2 separate regions of the Homo sapiens genome follow, and region 1 is linked to region 2. The links are contacts of gene promoters, found by promoter capture Hi-C in blood cells and fetal thymus (Javierre and others, 2016). All regions are on one chromosome and are shown on one strand. Each heading gives the region's core, a stretch centred on a gene start or on the middle of the fragment in contact. The rest is flanking DNA. Distances are from core to core; before and after follow the strand shown.

Region 1 (6,368 bases), core at 1,101-3,600, 66 kb before region 2:
ATACTGAAGATACCAAAAGAAAACTATAGACTAACACCGTTATTAATGTAGATGTAAAAACTCTCAACAAAATATTGGCAAGCCAAACCCAACTGCATAGTAAAAGGATTATACACTATTTATCTATGAAATGCAAGGGTGATTCAACATAAGAAAATTAATCAGTATAATATATCACACTAATAGAACGAAGTGGTTTCATGATTATCTAACTTGATGCAGAAGAGCATTTGACAAAATCTAACACCTTTCCAAAAAAAAAAAAAAAAAAAAAAAAACTCAAGAAACTAGGATAGGAATAGCAGAGAACTTCCTCAACATGATAAAGAACATTTATGAAAAACTCACAGCTAACATATACTCAATGGTGAAAGACCAAAAGCTTTCTCCTTAAAATCAGTAATATGACAAGGATAATCAATGCTAATCATAATTCAAGCTCTAGCCAAAACAGTTAGACAAGAAAAAGAAATAAAGGCATTCAAATCTGAAAGAACTATCTATTCACATATGACTTGATCCAATATATAAAAATCCCAAAGAATGGCTAGGTGTGGTGGCACACACCTGTAATCTCAGCACTTTGGGAGCCAGAGGCAAGGGAGATCACTTGAGGCCAGGAATTTGTGACTACCATAAGCAATATATTGAGACCCTATCTTTATGAAAAATTTAAAAATTAGCCAGGCATGGTGGTACACACCTGGAGTCCCAGCTACTCAGGAGGCTGAGGTGGGAGGATCCTTTAAGCCTAGAGTTCAAGTCTGTAGTGAGCTATGACTGCACCACTGCACTCCAGCCTCGGTGACAGAGTGAAACCCCATCTGTTTAAAAAAAAAAAAAAAAAAAAAAAACCCCAAAGAATGAACACACACACAGATGAGCTAATACAAGAATTCAGTAAAGTTACAAAAGTACAAGACTGACACACAAAAATCAGTTGTATTTATATATACCAGCAATTAACAATCTGAAAAGGAAATTAAGAAAACAATTTCATTTGCAATAGCATATAAAGGATCTAGGAATAAATTTAACCAAGGATGTGAAAGACTTGTATAATGAAACTACAAAACATTGCTGAAAGAAATTAAAAAAGACATAAATAAATGGACAGACACCCTGTGTTCACGGATTAGAAGACAATATAGTTAAAGATGGTGATACTATACAAAATGATCTACAGATTCAACACAATTTCTGTCAAAATTCCAACAGCCTTTTCTTGTAGAAATGGAAATCTAATCCTCAAATTCACATGGAATTTCAAGAAGACCCCAACTGTCAAAAACAATAGTGAAAAAGAAGAACAAAATTGGAGAAGTCACTTCTAATTTTCAAAATTTACAAAAATTACTATAGTAATCAGAGCAATGCGGTACTGGCATAAGAACAGACATGTAGGCCAATGAAATAGAATTGAGAGTCCAGAAATAAACCTATACATATGATTAAATAATTTTTGAGAAGAGTACCAAGACCATTCAATAGGTAAAAGTCTCTTCAACAAATGATGCTGGGATAACTGGACATCAACATGTAAAAGAATGAAATCAGACCCTACCTCACGGCATACACAAAAGTTAACTTAAAAATGGAACAATAACCTAAATAGAAAAGTTAAATTGATAGAACTCTTAGAAGAAAACTTAGGGATACATCTGTATGCCCTTGGTTATTTATGACAATGGACTCTTACATGACACCAAAAGCCCAACCATCAAAAGACAAAGCAGATACATTGGATTTTATCAAAATTTAAAACTTGGCACAGGCTTGAGCATCCAAATCAGAAAATCCAAGATCCAAAATGCTCCAATAGAAAATCTGAACTTGAGCACCAACATGACACACAACAAAAATGCTCATTTGAACATTTTGGAGTTCAGATTTGGGAGGCTTAACTGGTAAGTATAATTCAAAGTTCCAATATCTGAAAAAATTCAAAGCCCTTCTGGTCCCAAGCATTTCGGATAAGAGATACTATACTCAATCTGTACATCATAGAACATTATCAAGGAGCAAAAAAGGCAACCTATAGGAGAAAATATCTGCATATCATGGATCTGGACAAGGGTCTAATTTCTAAAATATATAAAGAACTCTAATAAATCAACAAAAAAACAAGCAATCCAATAAAAAATGAGCAAAGAACTTGAATAAACATTTCTCCAAAGATACACAAATAGCCAATAAGCATATGAAAAGATGTTCCACATTATTAATCATTAGGGAAATGCAAATGTAATCCATAATGAGGTATCATGTCACTCCCGGTAGGATGCCTCCTCAAAAAGTTAAACAAAGATTTCCACATGACTCAGCAATTCCATTCCTAGTATACAGCCAAAAGAAATGAAAACAGGTACTCAAAAAAATACTTCTGCACAAATATTCATAGCAGCAGTACTCATAATAGCCAAAAGGTGGATACAGCCCAAATGTTCATCAATGGATAAATAAACAAACTGTGATATTTCCATGCAATGGAATGTTATTCAGTCATAAAAGGGGATGAAGTACTGATGCGTGCAATCACGATGATCCTCGAAAACACCATGCTAAGTGAAAGACGCCAAACACAAGGATCCATAACATACTTTGAGTCTATTTATAGGACATATCCTGATTAGATAAATCCATAGAGATGGTAAAAAGTTGGTAGTTGTCAGGAGCTGAGGGTTGGGAGAAATGGGAAATTGTTCCACGGGCATAGAGTTTGTGACATGAAAAGCATTCTAGAAATTGCACAGAAATGTGTTTGTATTAACACTACTGAACTATACACTTAAAAATGGTTAAGATGGTAAATTTTGTTATGTTTTTTACAATAAAAAAATCCCATCCACGAATGGCTGGTCCCAGAGATCAGGCAGTCCAACCACTTGTTTTACATACACATGGGGAACTGAAGCCCAAATAAGGTTAGCTATTTGCCCAAAATCACAGTTGGTCAGAGGCAGCGGTGGGAGCAGTCACAACTTCTACTGCAAGTCTAATGCTCTTTCTACTTAATAAACCCTCCTGTTGGCATAAGCCTCTGAAGCTCAGAAACTGAAAATTTCTTTTTAATTGTAAAAAGAAAAAGAACTTAGATAATGTGCAATTAAAGAAAAAATACGCTGCCTGGCTGGAGGAAGGGAAATGCAGAGTAACTGCTTAATGGGCACAGAGTGTTCTGAGGTGATTAAAATGTTGAGTAACTTGATAGATGTGGTACTTACAAAACATTGTGAATGTACTAAGTGCCACTGAATTGTACTTTCTAAAATGTTAATTGTATGATATTTGAATTTCATGTCTATTTAAAAAAATACATCTAAATTTATCTCAACTTTTAATCCAAATTTTTTTTCTTTTTCTTTTTTTGAGATGGAGTCTCACTCTGTCACCCAGGCTAGAGTGCAGTGGCACAATCTCGGCTCACTGCAACCTCCACTTCCGGGGTCAAGCGATTCTCTTGCCTCAGCCTCCCGGGTAGCTGGGATTACAGGCGCCCGCCATCATGCCCAGCTAATTTTTCGTATTTTTAGTAGAGATGGGGTTTCACCATGTTGGACAGGCTGGTTTCGAACTGACCTCAGGTGATCCTGACCTCAGGTGATCCATCCGCCTCAGCCTCTCAAAGTGCTGGGATTACAGGTGTGAACTACCACGCCTGGCCTTAATCCAAATTTTCTGACTCATACATTCCCATCTTATTTTTCAGCTATGGGTGTTTTATCTGTTTCAATGTAAATATACATAGAGAACAAAGGTAGAAACTCGAAAGGTCCAAAAAGCACGCATTTTGGAATTAATTCCCATTCCTTCCCAATCTGCCTCTCCAAATGCTGCCAATGGTCCTAGTTATCCATTCTTCCAGAAATGAATATGAATGTTTTCAATCTACTTGCTTAGGAATCTGTATACATTCTCAATCAGAATTCTTAAATTCTGAAATTTTTCTTTTTCTCATTCTCTCTACTTTTTCATTTTTATTTTTGAGATGGAGTCTCGCTCTGTCACCCAGGCTGGAGTGCAGAGGCACGATCTCGGCTCATTGCAACCTCCACCTCCTGGGCTCAAGTGATTCTCTGCCTCAGCCTCCAGAGTAGCTAGGACTACAGGGAAACCCCTTTTAGATAATTAAATCTATCTGGGTCTTCTCACTACTATGTCATCCTCTTTAAATATTTTCTGTCTTTTTTGTGTGTTCTGTTGCTCATTTCTTCGTAGTTAATATTCCTGTCAATTCAATTCAGTCTGCTGTTTAACCGTTAGACCATTTATGTTTGAATTTTAATGTTCTTATTTCTAGAAGTTCTTCAGAAGCTTTTAAATTATGCCTGTCTTTTTTTTCTTTGGTGTCTTTTTCCTTCAATTCCTTCTTTTCTCTTTATACACTTCATATACACTTACAAATATCTTTACTGACATCATTATGTAAATAATTGTTTGTAATCACTTTCAGACTTGTCCATGATATCCTTAATTGTTGCAGTGCTATTTTCTGGTTGTGTCTATTCACCTTCATTGGTGTGATTTGTAATTTAATTGTGAGGTCATCTTCTTTGGAAACAGTTTTGCCTCTGGACACTGACCAAGGAACTGTGAAAATGTCCCCGGGAGTTTTCTTTCCGTTCCTGATCAATTATCATGTATGTTCTTCGGTTTGGGATTCCTGTACCAAGTAGATGGTACAAATTTATGTTATAGCGCCATCTACATATGAGATGGAAGAATACCAAACAGGCTGGGCACCGTGGCTCATGCTTGTAATCCCAGCAGTTTGGGAGGTCAAATCGGGATGAGGCCAAATCAGGATGAGCTCAGGAGTTTGAGAGCAGCCTGGGCAACAAAATAGACACTGTCTCTACTAAAAAAAAAAAAATTGTTTTTTTATTAGACAGGTATGGTGGTGAGCAACTATAGTCCCAGGTAGTGGGGAGGCTGAGGTGGAAGGATTCCCTGAGCCCAGGAGTTTGAGGCTGCAGTGAGCTATGATTGTGCTGCTGCACTCTGTCCTGGGCAACCGAGTGAGACCCTGTCTCCAAAAAAAGAAAAAGAAAAGATTAGTTTACAGAATAATTAAGAACACTGGTAGCATTTGATGTGAATTTCTATTTTTCATAGGTCTCCCCTCTTATCCACAGTCTTCTGCACACAGGTAAAATTCCTTGCAGCTTTCACTGGCTAGAGCACTGAGGTCTCTCTTTTCACGGATAGTTCAGTTTTTTGACACAGGCTAAGTTCTAGCTCCCCTCTCTACCTAGTTCTAAGGCTTTCTGTCCTTGCATGGACATTAAAACTAGCATCAACTCCTCAACCAATATGTGGTCTAAAATCCCAGAGTATAAGTTCCTGTTTTGGCTTTGAGTTATCTCTGCTTATTATCTGGAGGTTAACCTTTCTTTCCTTAAAGCTTAGACACGTATTGGAAAAAACTTTTATTATATTCCACATTTCAGTTTGTTGGTGTGGGACAGCCATTCCACAGGGGCTTATTACCCCACTATGTTACCCAAAGCTCCTCAATATAGTTTTTAAAACAAGTAAACCATTGTATTTTAGAGTAATCTTAGGCATGCCAGACAAACTGTTGACAACCAAGTAAGTATCCAAACCAGTGGAAAGAATCTCAAGATGTACACATAATTATTACCACATAATTCTCCTTAATTCATTCAAACACTTATTATTCAGTATTAGACACTTCCAGTAGAATGTGATATCTAGCACTTGTTCATAGTACTAGGTATATAGTGCTAGTTAGCACATTCTAATGGAAGAAAAGAGAGTATCAAGAAGCCTGACTAACTAGGATAAAGGTATTGCCATAAACAAGAGTGGAAGTTGGATAAAGAAATTAGAATTTGCAGGACAGAAATGATCTGTTCATGTTTCAACATGCTAACCGTAAGCATTTCAGAAAACATGCAAGTGACTATATCCAGGTGCTGTAACACTGTATTCCAATGATCTGGAATTAATCAGCTCAGCAGTATTAACTTTAACAATTAATAAAGAATATATGCCACAGTGATAATTTAAAAATATCCAATTTCACCAAATAAAAAATTTATACAAGGTAACTTACTACAGGTTCTTCTCTGAGTAAAAACAGATCCTCTAAGATACCAGGGGTCCCCAACCACTGAGCCACAGATCAATATCAGTCCATGGCCTTTTAGGAACCTGGCCACACAGCAGGAGGTGAGTGGCAGGCGAGCAAGCAAAGCTTCATCTGTATTTACAGCCGCTCCCTCACTGCTCGCATTACCACCTGAGCTCTGGCTCCTGTCAGCAGCATTAGATTTCTCACAGGGCCATGAACCCTACTGTGAACTGTGCATGCAAGGGATCTAGGTTGAGCGTTCGTTATGAGA
Region 2 (6,934 bases), core at 468-2,967:
TGGTTTCAGTGTCCAGACCTTTGTAGACCGTCTTAAAGGAGCCTCTGCCGATTTCGATGTCAAACTTGAGAAAGCGGCCATCGTTAGACATTCCCACGGCCTTGGTCTCCAGCTCTTCGATATCATCCTGCTGCTGGCTCCGTTCCTCCTGTGGCTCCTTGGCGCTGCCGCCGCCGCTGCCACTTCTCGCCGGCGGCGGCTCCTCTTTGCTCCCCACAAGGCTAGGCTGGGACACTGGGCGGTCTTTGCTGGTACTGCTGGGGACAGTCGAGGGGGCAGGGCCCGCGACGGCCTGTTCCCCAGGGGCGGCAGCGGCTGGAGGCTGCTGGGCTACCTGGGAAGTGGCGGTGGCGGTCACGGTCTCTTCCCGGTGGGGCTCCGGTGGAGCACTCTGCGGGACAGCCGCGGGGATGCTGGGCTGGGGCAGGGAAAGAGGAAGGCCGGGAAGCTCCAGTGCAGTGGCATTGGAGTCACAGATGACGCTCCGGCGGAAGAAGCGGTGCTCAGTGGTGGTAGTGGTCGCGGCCGCCCCACGGCTGTCCTTGTCCATAGTGTGGCGGCGGCGCCTGTACTCCTCGGTCCTGCCGGTCACAGCGTCGGCGGCCGCGGCTCCCAGTTTCTCCCCCACGGAGGAATCGGAGCTGGAGCCATTCTTGGGGGCAGGAGCCGGCGGCGAGAGGAACAGGGAACCGGGAGTGCTGCTCTGCTTCTCTGCGGCGCCGCCAGACATGGTCGGTTCGCTGGAGAGAGGCGAGCGGGCTCGGATTCGTGAACGAAAAGGGCGTGAAGGGCCGAGCCGCCCGCGCAGAGGTCTGCAGGGAACCGCGGCCGGGCGGGTTCGCGCCGACCCGGACGACGCCTCACTCAGCACCGACAAGCCGCAACGAGGGACAGGCGGACCGCTGGGCCCAGCTGCGGCGGGGGCTGGCACCGAGGCTGCTGCGGCTCACGAGGAGGGCTCGAAGGCGGGCGATTCGGGAGCTGAGCCACGGGGGTTAGCGCCGCACGGTCCGCATCCATCCTGCGGCGAGCGGCGGCCGGGCGGGCGGTGGCAGCAGAGGCGCCGCAGTCATGAGGGGAGGGCCAGGGGCCGGCACCGAGTCGAGGCGGATGCGGCGGACGCGGCTCCCACTGCCGCCGCTCGCCGAGCTGGGCGGGCTAGGCCCAGAGGGCGGCGGCACCGCGAGCACGGGACCAGGTCCGACGCCCGGGCGGTGGCGGCCCCGGGGCAGAGGAGTGGGAGGGGCCGAGGCGGGCGAGGGAAGGCCGCGGCCCGGCTCCCGGTCACTCGGGCGGCCGCCTCCTCCCACACGCGCCCCCAGCGATGGGGACCGGCCTCACAGGTCGCCCATCGCCCAGAGGCGAAGGGCCGGAGCCTCGGAGCCTCGGCGCCTGAGGAGCGGGCCCCCCCTTCCCCGAGGCCTCCCCGCCCGCCCCAGGCCTGGCAAACCCGTCTCCTCCCGGGCCGGTGCCGGGGGCTGACGGAGGAGGGAACGGCGGGGAGGGGAGGGCCGCTCACCGCGGGGCCCGAGCTCCGCTGCTTCTCTGAGGCAAGAGGAGAGGAGACCTAGAGGACTGGGTGAGGGGGAACAGGGAGAGAAAAGAGCAGCCACCCCCACCAGGCGCCTTCTGTCACCGAAGATGGGGGTGCGGAGTGGCCGAGAGAGGAGCCGCGTCCACCCGGGAAACTCTCCGCGCTAAATGGCGCCGGGAGTCTGAAGCCTCCACACAGCCCGCTCGGATCCCGCCCCCCGCCGCCCGGAGCAGCCCCACCCCCCAACTCGCTCCGGGGCTTTTGCGCAGGCGTGCTAGCCCCGAGGCACCCTGGGACTTATAGTTTACGGGTTGGCGGGGATGAACGGGACCTAGAAGAAAAGTGCCTACGACTTCCGTGATGCCTTGCGGTTGCTGTAGCCTAATGCCTCGTGGGAGTTGTAGTTTTCTTTGGAAACCGTCCCTTCTGAAAGGCTGATGGGAGCGTCATCACGGGTCGCTCAACCCCATCCCGAAGTCCGCGCGAGCTTAGGAAAATCATTATTTAGGGATTAATTGTGGAAGAAGGAAAGGAAGGAAAAAAAAAAAAAAAAGAAGAGGAACGAGCGGGCGGGGGGTGGGGGGGGGGATGGAAAGACTCCCATCATGCTCTGCTAAGCTAGAGAGCTCTTAGGGTTGCCATGCAATGAAAAATGATCTGTTGTTCATCTTTAATGGAGAGAGCCTCAGTAGTGTTGAGTGACTGCAGGGCTGTGAGGGTGGAAGGGAAGGGCAAAGCAGGATAACCGGAGCCTGAGCTCTGAGTCGGAGGAGGGGAAAAGAAACTTTGTGAAGATTGTGCATGAAATTAATATTGATTAAACGGATTGGAGGAGGAGACACGGAGGATTACCTTCCATCCTCCTCCCCTCATCAATTAAGGCCACATTCTCAGCTCCCGGCCGAGACGGATATTCTGGCTCTCAAAAAAGGGCTGCCTTACTGAAATCGGGGATCCTAGTGAACTCTATCTTTGCTTTGTCTGAAAAATAATAAAAGGGGGGTTGGGGGAGCGGTGGATTCAAGAAAAGATAAGGTCTACGGATCTATGGGTCTTTGACCACACTTGGGGGGCTGGGCTGACTTCTGCCTTTGTAGTTGGTTGAAACTTATTTTCCACCTTTCTTCTGCTGGTGGCTTCGTGAAACAACACCCCCTCTTTCTCTAGAGCTCCTGAATGTCCACATGCAATGTCTACAAAGGCTCTGGGCCCGGGAAATGTGGATCCATGCGGCTTGCCGCCATGGAATGTTTTTCTTGAAAGCATCCTTGTCTGCCTGGACCCCTGTGCTCTTCGCAACTACTCAAGATGTGGAGGGGACGAGCACCAGGGGGCACCAGACCGAGTAGGAAGCCGGACTCGGGAGCAGACTGCAGTTTAAAAGCCTCAGTCCAACCGGTGGAGAGCGGGAAGCGCTGAAAACGTACGCAACCGCATCAGAGCGTCCGGACGCGGCCGCCTCTCTTCAGCGCCCGCTGCGGAACAAGCTCGAAAGCGCGCGTCGGGGCCGAGGACCACGCTGCGAGCGAGCAGCTAGCAAGGAACTCGGCAGGAGGTTCCTTAGCACAGTTATCGGATGAGCTCCACCTACAGAAGTCTTGCCCTGCAGTTCATGTTAATTCATCTGATACGTAAAATACTTAACCCTATTTTTCTTTTCTTTCTTTTTTTGTTGTTTATCACAAGCTACACTTTCAAGTTTACAAAAATGTTTTAAACCAATGATCGTTAGGTTTCATGAAGCTGACAGGTTACGAACATTTTAAAATGCCGATTCAGCAGGGACAACTAGAGTACTAAAATATTAGTGTTCCATTGCTTTAGAAAATGTATCTTTCATTCGTTTGCTATTGGTAATGGTAAATAATCTCATTATGGCAAATGGAATTAAGAGTGTTTTTCTAACCGTAAACCTAATGTAAGCAAGGGAAGAAATGGCTGTAAAATACATTTTTATTGTACTTTTGAGTAAAATAAAACTTACCCAATTGTTGCTTCACTAGGAAAAATAGTCTGATTTTAAACATAAGGCAGCTAATTACAAATTGGCAAGTTAAAAGAAGATCAGTAAATCACAATGTTCCCTTTTGGCACCATGAAAAAATTAGGATATTTTTGTGTGAGTGGTTGTTAAAGGATTTTATTATTGCCTGTTCCTGTTTACTGAGCCCTGAAACTTTGGCCACACTGCATTGGACACAAGTCCCTTGATAATCACCATGCCCTATCAACATGTCTTTTCAACCAGGAACAACTAAATTCATTGTAAGTAATTTAATTAACTGTTGACTTAAAACCACACTTGCCTAGGAGACAGCTTTTCCCACTTGTGTAATATTAGCTTTACAATGAAAACAGATACAATTTTAAGTTGAATATAATCTTATTATGTACAATGATTAGATTTAAAGGTTATATTATTTAGTGTGCGTATTTTACTAACAAACACTTTTTTGCTCAGTTTTTGTTTTGTTTTGTTTTGTTTTGAGAGAGGCTCACTCTGTCGCCCAGGCTGCAGTACAGTGGCTTGATCCCAGCTCACTCAGTTCTTTTTAATGCTTACCAACCTACCTCCAAGTAAATGGTATTTTCTGTTACTCATTACTATAATTCCTAATAGTACTTTTCCTTTCTCTGTCACTTCAATTATCCAGTAAAGAATCAACCTCTCTATGTTCCATATAAAACATCAAGTGACTGTAAACAGAGATAACAAAGAACCCAGGATACAATGAATGCACTAAGCTCAGAGGTTTGACTTCCTTACATTTGGTTCCACAAGAAGAATACAAGTATGTTATTCTGTCTCACCATGTCTCTATTCTCTCTAGTTCTTGTTCATGTTCTCACATTGATTGATTCATGTTTCTTTCTATTCCCTTCCATTCACATTTTTTTGTTTACATGGTTTCTGCCATTGGTAACTAGCTAGCAATGAAAGTCAGAGACACCTTTGATTTAGACAGTGGCTGAAATATCCTAAACACACAAAATCTACCTTACTTTGAATGTGGCAAAATATTGATACATAAAGTTGCTTCTTGAAGTGTAGGGGAAAAATTGTCCCACCTTAAGAGCATTTCTCTTTTTTTTTTTTTGTCTCCTTTCCCTCATTTTCCCATGCTCCTTTGTCTTGCCTATGGGTAATTTTTATTTTACCTCTTTGTCGTCTGGAACCCTGTCATCTGGAAGTAGGAAGTGAGAATCAGGCAGATAAACAATGAAGAATAGTTTTTTAAGAACTTTATATTATAAATGAAATAAAGGGGGTGGGATTTTCCCTATATCAAAGTATATTATAAAACCATAAAATTAAATCTATATGGTATTGAGATAAGCATAGGCAATGGAACAGAAGAGAGAGTACAGAAACAGTCTCATGTATGTATGGGAATTTCATATAGAAAATGGCATTTGAAGTCAGTAGGGCAAAATAATAAACAGTGCTTGGACAATTAGTTATTCATTTGAAAAATAAATGAGGTCAGTGTTTACTTCAGACTGTTCACAAAATTAATTTCCACATAAATTGAAGAACCAAACTTTTAAAAAATATCTCTAAATAATTTTTTAAATGTAGGAGAACATAGGGTACTAAAGGGCTTCAAAGAGCAATCCAAGAGCCACAAAGGAAAATATTTGACAATATCAAAATTGATAATCTATTCAACAAAACACAAGTGACAAACTGCCAGAAAAACTCTGGAGACTGTATAACAAAAGATTAATATCCAAAAGATATGGGGGGAAAAAAACCCTCTTAAATCACTGAGAAAAAGGCAAACCACTGTATAGAAAAGGAGGATATGAAAAGATAATTTACAAAGCAGTAAATGCCATGGTGGCTTACACCTGTAATCCCAGCACTTTGGGAGCCTAAGTGGGAGGATCACTTGAGGTCAGGAGCTCGAGACCAGCCTGGCCAACATGGTGAAACCCCGTCTTTACTAAAAATACAAAAATTAGCCGGGCATGGTGGTGCGCGCCTATAGTCCCAGCTACCCGGGAGGCTGAGGCACGAGAATCGCTTCAACTCAGGAGGTGGAAGTTGCAGTGAGCCGAGATTGAACCATTGCACTGCAGCCTGGGCAACAAAGCGAGACTGTGTCTCAGAAAAAAAAATAAAATAAAATAAAGCAGTAAATGCAAATAACAAAAATAGACATGAAAAAGATGCTGAAACTCAGTAACTAGCAAAATGCAGATTAAAATATAATATTTTCTCTCATAAAATTGAAAAATTATCTTTTTTTGAGACAGAGTCTCATTCTGTTGTCCAGGCTGGAGTGCAGTGGTGCAATCACAGCTCACTGTAGCCTCATACTTCTAGGCTCAAGCCTGCCGAGTAGCTGGGACCACAGGTGTGCACCACCATGTCCAGCTAATTTTTAAATTTTTTGTAGAGATGAAGTCTCACTATGTTACCTTGGCTGGTCTGAACTCCCTGGACTTAAGCAGTTCTCCTATTTCAGCCTCCCAACGTGCTAGGATTGCAGGCGTGAACCACCACGCCTGGTCTAAATTGAGCAAAAAAAAAAAAAAAAAAAAATTTTTTTTTTTTTTTTTTAGTGTCCCCATCATGGCAATTTGCAAAATTTTTAGGGATTCATAATATCAAGTGTTGGCGAGGATGTGGAGAAACGTGCTGTTAATGATACGGTAAATTGGTACAAGCTTTTTTGAGGGCAATTTGTTAGCAATTATTAAAACGTACAATGTGCATCGTCTTTTTCTTTCTTTTTGGTACCTACCTTGGAAAAATACTTGCACGTGTTTCCTAAGAAATATCTATAAGAGGGTGGGTGCTCACGCCTGTAATCCCAACACTTTGGGAGGCCGAGGCGGGTGGATCACAAGGTCAGGAGTTCGAGACCAGTCTGGCCAACATGGTGAAACCCCGTCTCTACTAAAAATACAAAAAATTAGCCGGGTGTGGTGGTGTGTGCCTGTAACCTCAGCTACTCGGGAGGCTAAGGCAGGAGGATCACGTGAACCGGGAGGTGGAGGTTGCAATGAGCCGAGATTGTGCCACTACACTCCAGCCCAGGCAACAGTGCAAGACTCCATCTCAAAAAAAAAAAAAAAGGAAAGAAATATCTATAAGAATATTCACTATAGCCAGGTGCAGTGGTGTGTGCTTGTAGTCCTAGCTACTTGGGAGGTTGAGGTGGGAGGATTACTTGAGCCCAGGAGGTCGAGGCTGCAGTGAGCTATGATCACGCCACTGCACTCCAATCTGAGTGACAGAGCAAGACCCTGTCTCTAAAAAACAAAAACAAAACATAAAACCTTTCACTATGGCTTTATTTGTAACAAAAAATCCAAATGATCTGCATGTTCATCAATAAGAAAATAGCTAAACTATGGTATTTCCAGTTTGGGGTACACCATGCAACAGTA

Evidence for each region. Contacts are between HindIII fragments. The CHiCAGO score rates a contact against its expected background, and 5 or more counts as called.
Region 1: a fragment that was not itself captured here is called in contact with the fragment with the promoter of WNK1 in region 2 in 7 of 17 cell types (activated CD4 T cells, M2 macrophages, non-activated CD4 T cells and 4 more); the score reaches 10.0 in activated CD4 T cells.

Annotation. Positions count from the first base shown.
Region 1 is chr12:814,953-821,320 of GRCh38, reverse strand. The region is part of intron 2 of WNK1 (WNK lysine deficient protein kinase 1); the gene reads right to left. Among named protein-coding and RNA genes, the nearest start is that of WNK1, 66 kb to the right of the region's middle. The HindIII fragment of the contact is 3,932 bases long and covers 385-4,316 here.
Region 2 is chr12:747,362-754,295 of GRCh38, reverse strand. It overlaps WNK1 (WNK lysine deficient protein kinase 1), which reads right to left and starts at 1,717. Exons shown (of 28, transcript NM_018979.4): 1 at 1-1,717. The coding sequence starts at 730. RefSeq lists enhancers at 267-985, 986-1,704, 2,462-2,511, 2,562-2,661 and silencers at 822-1,201, 1,212-1,591, 1,672-1,821. The HindIII fragment of the contact is 8,297 bases long and covers 1-6,210 here.